2 separate regions of the Homo sapiens genome follow, and region 2 is linked to region 1. The links are contacts of gene promoters, found by promoter capture Hi-C in blood cells and fetal thymus (Javierre and others, 2016). All regions are on one chromosome and are shown on one strand. Each heading gives the region's core, a stretch centred on a gene start or on the middle of the fragment in contact. The rest is flanking DNA. Distances are from core to core; before and after follow the strand shown. Region 1 holds the start of VWA5B2 (von Willebrand factor A domain containing 5B2). Region 2 has its middle 4.8 kb from the start of DVL3.

Evidence for each region. Contacts are between HindIII fragments. The CHiCAGO score rates a contact against its expected background, and 5 or more counts as called.
Region 2: a contact is called between a fragment that was not itself captured here and the fragment with the promoter of VWA5B2 in region 1, in 1 of 17 cell types (endothelial precursors). The highest score is 6.0, in endothelial precursors.

The regions. Positions count from the first base shown.
Region 1 is chr3:184,228,146-184,231,189 of GRCh38, forward strand. It overlaps VWA5B2 (von Willebrand factor A domain containing 5B2), which reads left to right and starts at 1,440. Exons shown (of 20, transcript NM_001390846.1): 1 at 1,440-1,568; 2 at 2,235-2,522; 3 at 2,602-2,772. The coding sequence starts at 2,384. RefSeq lists a silencer at 1,208-1,547. The HindIII fragment of the contact is 8,832 bases long and covers 438-3,044 here.
Region 2 is chr3:184,149,009-184,152,158 of GRCh38, forward strand. It overlaps the pseudogene RPS3P3. Among named protein-coding and RNA genes, the nearest start is that of DVL3, 4.8 kb to the right of the region's middle. The HindIII fragment of the contact is 3,986 bases long and covers 1-3,150 here.

The sequences.
Region 1 (3,044 bases), core at 190-2,689:
TGAAGCTGAGAACAGACTCAGTAGAGAAAGGGGGAGAGAGGTGAATGGAACCATGACCCAGGTAGTATGGAAAGAGGGCTAGGACCCAGCTGGAGCTCCCTGTGTGTTGGGTACGTGTGACTGTGTCTGTGCTCCCTGTATCATTCCTGTGCATTTCCACCCATGAAATTCCCTGGGAAAAGGTCAAGCTCTCTCCACCATGCTAAGTAGGGTGAGCAAAGGAGATGGTTGGGGTTGAGGGCTCAGATACTCAAGGAGGCAGGGATCCCCCGGGGGGATGATCCCTGGTGATAGTGATTGAAATCAGAAGGAGAGAGTTAATGCGGAGGAGTGAGAACCATGGGCCCGACTCGAAAGCTCACTTCCTACTGGCTGTCCTCCATCCCCAGCTCTCCTCAAGCTCTCTCTGCAGAATCTCAGTATGGCATCTGCCAAAAAGCTTACATGGATGATCCCCAAACATGGTCATCTCCTCTCACTTCCCCAGGGCTCTCAGACTCTTCCTTGGGGGACCTGGGAGAGGTTTTCCGGACCTTCCTACTTTTTGACAGCATAACACTGTCAAGCACATGCAAAGTCTGCCAATAACAAGGGGCCCTCCTGACAAGCAGAGATGTTTTCTCTTCAGGGCTGCGGTGATGGGTGGGGGTCACTGCTATGAGGGGACGGTCTGCAGCCATAAGAAGGCTCTTCAGGCTAGAAGGCTTCACTCCCAAGGCCCGCACAGCTGAAGAGACCAAGGGGTTATAGGCTGAGGGCGCTATTGTGCACACCCTCCCACCCCAGCAGAAGTGGTTGGCACTGCAGCGATGCCAAGGCCGGCTGCTTGGGGGTGGGAGGAGGTCGCTGCAGTGATGAGGAATCCCTGCTTGGAGTGAGTGGTCACTGAAGTGGCTGCATGAACTAAAAGTACCTGCAGGGATGGGGGAGGTTTTCTGCAGTGATGAAGAGCACTTTGCAAAGGAAAGGGGCCAGCTTCTTGGGGGAAGAGTCCTGCGGTGACGGTGATGGGGGGCTGGGGGGTTCGCTGCAGTCAGGAGGGAGGGTCTCTGCAGCGATGGGAAGCAACCCAGGGCAGGGGGTGGGGTGGGCTGGGGAATGGGATGCCGTCGTGGTAATGGGATAGCTGGGGTCGCGGCAGTGTCGGTGGCACTTGCAGGACGCCTGATTCCTGAAGAATGGAAAGGGTGGGGTCTCTGAGGCCTCGGTCCTGCAGTGACGGGGATCCGTGCGGCGGCGGGGACGCGGTCCCTGCACTGCGGTGCCCAGTCTGGCTCGGGCTGCCGCGGCTGGCGCGGAGGCGGTACCGCGCCCGAAGGAGGGGGGAGCGCCAGCCCCGCCGCAGCAGCAGCAGGCGTGGCCAGGGCAGGCTGGAGGGGCGGCCTCTCGGAACGGGGGCGGGACCACCGCCGGCAGGGCCCGCGCCCCTGCCGGGACTCAGAGCCGCTGCAGCCACAGTCACGAACTGGCGGCCGGCAGGTGCCGGGACCGAGGGCCACCCGGAGCGCAGAGGCGGCACCACCCACACGGATCCCGTGGGCACCTAGAACTCCGCGGAGGGCGCGACGGTGAGGCTGAGACTGCCACAGGGAGCGGGGCGATCCCCAGAGCCAGCCCGCGGCATCCCCTGCGCGGGCCGCGGCCACTGCAGGTGCCCCCTCCTCCCACATCAGCTCTGCCGGGGTAGGGAGCGGTAACCTGGCGGCTCCCACGGACTCTCCCTGGCCCGACACCTCTCCCGGGCTTGCCTCCCAAAGACCCCCTCTTTTCGCTTTCCCAGCTCGTTCTTCCCACCCTTAACCCCTCCACTCCGGCCAGCACCCCCGTCGGATGAGGCACCAGGGAGAGAAAGACCAAGGCCCTTTCGGCGCCCCATCCACCCTGCCCCCGCGATCCCTCGCAGGGCCGGGGGCCTCCGGGGGGATTCGGGCCCTTTAAACCTCCGCCTTCCCGGAGCATCTTCCATCTCCACCCGCGCCGCTTCCGACAGCTGGCGGCCGCGGGGGGCCCCGGGGGGCCGGCAGGTACGGGGGTGGCTGCGAGGTTGGGAGTGGGCGGTGGAACAGCTGTGACCGCCCCCACCCCCGGGGGAGCCGCGGCGGGACTGCTGGGCGCCGAAGCGCGCGTTAATCATTAACCCTCCGCGGCCCGGCTGCCCAGGTAACGCGTGAGGATGCCCTCCTCGCCACCACGCCTGCCGCCCCCTTATCTCCCCCGCCACCTGTCGCCCTCAGGAGCTCCCGCTCGGCCTCGCGCCCCGGCAGGCCCCGTCCGGGTGCTGGAGTGAGACTCTCGCGCTGGCCTCTGGAGCGCGGGGTGGGCGTCCCGTCACCCTGCGCCCAGCTTCCCCGGCCCGTTCCCGCAGGGCCGGCCTCCCGGCGCCATGCCCGGCCTGTACTGCCCCTCCAGCTGGACGCCGCTGCCGCTCACGGACTCCTGGGTCCGGGCCTGCGCCAACGGCCCCTGCCTCAGCGTGCGGGCCCGGCTCACCTACCGCAACCCGCAGCCGCAGCCGGTGGACGGTGAGGCCCGGGTGGGGCGCGGGCGCGGCGGGGGGTGCGCCGGGCAGGGTCCGACGCCGCCTCCCGCCGCCCTCCCCAGGCGTGTTCGTGTACCCGCTGGCCGAGGCCGAGGTGGTGTCCGGCTTCGAGGCCGAGGCCGCCGGACGGCGCGTCTCCTTCCAGCTGCAGAGCCGGCGCCGCTCGCAGGCCGCCTGCTGCCGCGCTCTGGGCCCGGGGCTGGGGACCCCGACGCCCCGCCGCTGCGCGCAGGGTGAGTTCCGCGCGCCCGCACCCGCGCTCCTGAAAGCCGGGCGCAGCTCAGGCTCCCGCATCCGCTCGGCCTCCGCCCGTCCCCCGCCTTCCTCCGGGCACTGCCTTGTGCATTCATTGGCTCATCCTGGTATTTAGCAGTCGTGGGCTGGGCACCTGACCTGCGCCAGGTGCTGGGAGAACATGGCCCGGAGGTTCACAGCCTGGGAGACAGACACAGCAGGCAGCACAGGGCTTGCGGGGGCGCCAGCAACCCTTACAGCCCAGGAGACC
Region 2 (3,150 bases), core at 472-2,971, 79 kb before region 1:
GTTCTTAGAAATTAAAAATAAGTAAACTAATTCCTTCTCTTGAGAATTGGAGGATTCGAGGACCAAATAGCAGGGTAACGTTTCACTGTATTTCCATTCTTACATACTTCTTGAATCTTGAATCATGAATATATTATCTATCCAAAAAAAAAAAAAAAGTAGTAAAGGATCAATCCATAAGGCCCAAAATCATCTACTGGGCTGCGGAAACAGAATAGGAAAAATCGGCTGGACGTGGTGGCTCATGCCTGTAATCCCAGCCCTTTGGGAGGCCAAGGCAGATGGATTGCTTGATGCCAGGAATTTGGGACCAGCTGGGCAACATAGCAAGATCCCATCTCGACAAAAAATTTTAAATTATCAGCCAAGGGTGGTGGTGTGTGCCTGTAGTCCCAGCTACTCGGGAGACTGAGGTGGGAGGATCACTTGTGCCCAGTTCGAGGCTGCAGTGAGCTATGATCACACCACTGCACTCCAGCCAGGAAGACAGAGCAAGACCTTGCCTCCAAAAAAAAAAAAAAAAGGCTGGGTGTGATGTGACTCACACCTGTAATCCCAGCACTTTGGGAGGCCAAGGTTGGCAGAGGATAACTTAAGCCCAGGAGTTTGATACCAGACTGGCCAATGTGGTGAAACCCTGTGTCTATTAAAAATACAAAATTAGGCCTTTCCTTTCAGTGGAGCGTGGCGGCAAGATGGCTGTGCAAATTTCCAAGAAGAGGATGTTTGTCACTGATGACATCTTCAAAGCTGAACTGAATGAGTTTCTTACTCAGGAGCTGGCTGAAGATGGCTACTCTGGAGTTGAGATGCAAGTTACACCAACCAGGACAGAAATCATTATCTTAGCCACCAGAACACAGAATATTCCTGGTGAGAAGGGCTGACGGATTCGGGAACTGACTGCTATAGTTCAGAAGAGGTTTGGCTTTCCAGAGGGCAGTGTAGAGCTTTATGCTGAAAAGGTTGCCACTAGAGGTCTGTGTGCCATTGCCCAGGCAGAGTCTCTGCGTTACAAACTCCTAGGAGGGCTTGCTGTGTGGAGGGCCTGCTATGGTGTGCTGCGGTTCATCATGGAGAGTGGGGCCAAAGGCTGCAAGGTCATGGCGTCTGGGAAACTCCGAGGACAGAGGGCTAAATCCATGAAGTTTGTGGATGGCCTGACGATCCACAGTGGAGACCCTATTAACTACTACGTTGGCACTGCTGTGTGCCACGTGTTGCTCAGACAGGGTGTGCTGGGCATCAAGGTGAAGATCATGCTGCCCTGGGACCCAACTGGTAAGACTGGCCCTAAGAAGCCCCTGCCTGACCACGTGAGCATCGTGGAACCCAAAGATGAGATACTGCCCACCACCCCCATCTCAGAACAGAAGGGTGGGAAGCCAGAGCCATCTGCCATGCCCCAGCCAGTCCCTACAGCATAACAGGGTCTCCTTAGCAGCTGTATTCTGGAGTCTGGATGTTGCTCTGTAAAGACCTTTAATAAAATCTCATACAAAGACAAAAAAATATATACAAAATTAGGGCTGGGCATGGTGGCTCACACCTGTAATCCCAGCACTTTGGGAGGCTGAGGCGGGCAGATCACCTGAGGTCAGGAGTTTGAGACAATCCTGGCCAACATGGTGGAACCCTGTCTCTACTAAAAATACAAAATATTAGCTGGGCATGGTGGTGCATGCCTGTAATCCCAGCTACTCAGGAGGCTGAGGCAGGAGAATCGCCTGAGCCCAGGAGGCAGAGGTTGCAGTGAGCCGAGATAGCTCCACTGCACTCCAGCCTGGATGATAGGGTGAGACTCCTTCTCAAAAAAAAAAAAAAAGAAAAAAAAAGTTAGCCGCATGTGGTGGTGTGCACCTGTAATCCCAGCTACTCAGGAGGCTGAGGCACGAGAATCACTTGAACCCAGGAGGTGGAGATTGCAGTGAGCTGAGACCACACCACTGCACTCCAGCCTGAGTGACAGAGTGAGACTCTGTCTCAAAAAAAAAGAACATTTTAATTACCATTTTTCCGTTTTTTTTTTTCTTTTAGACTGAGTTTTGTTCTGTTGCCCAGGCTGGAGTGCAGTGATGTGGTCTCAGCTCACTGCAATCTCCACCTCCCGGGTTCACGCGATTCTCGTGCCTCAGTCTCCTGAGTAGCTGGGATTACAGGTGCTTACCACCACACACGGCTACTTTTTTGTTTGTTTGTTTTTTTGAGAAGGAGTGTCGCTGTCACCCAGGCTGGAGTGCAGTGGCGTTGGGATTACAGGCATGGACCTGGTCTTAATTCAAGAATTTATTGTTGGCTGGGTACGGTGGTTCACACCTATAATCCCAGCACTTCGATAGGATCGCTTGAGCCAAGGAGTTTGAGGCTGCAGTGAGCCATGATTACCTCACTATACTCCAACCTGAGCAACAGAGCAAGGCCTTGTCTCAATAAACAGGTAAATAAAACAAAGGAGTAAAGTATCCAGGAAACAGATTCAACACAGAGACAGGTAAAGGGAATTTTGAGGATGCAGAGAAGTCCCAGGATGACAGCTGTGCACAGGCTGAGATAGCCGGCGGTGCAGACCAGAGCAAAAGAATGGAAGGTTCCACCAAGCGTGGTGGCTCACGCCTGTAATCCCAGCACTTTGAGAGGCTAAGGCGAGCGATCACCTGAGGTCAGGAGTTCCAGATCAGCCTGGCTAACATGGTGAGACCCTGTCTCTACTAAAAATACAATATTAGCTGGGCGTGGTGGCAGGCGCCTGTAATCCCAGCTACTTGGGAGGCTGAGGCAGGAGAATCACTTGAACCTGGGAGGCAGAGGTTGCAGTGAGCCGGAATCTCGCCACTGCACTCCAGCCTGGGCGACAGAGTGAGACTCCATCTAAAAAAAAAAAAAAAAAAAGATGGAAGCCTCCAGGGAAAAATTGAACTGATGGATTATCTAATAGCTTTGACTGAATGAACAAAATGTGTATTGAGAAACTATTAGATTACATGGGAAAAACTAATGATAGGTATAATATATTAAAACAAATGAAAACACAAGGCAATGATTAAAGTCAGAGGAAACAAAAAAGTTGTAAAGGAAACGATTATAAAACACACATGAGGCCAGCGCGGTGGCTCATGCCTGTAATCACAGCACTTTGGGAGGCCAAGGCAG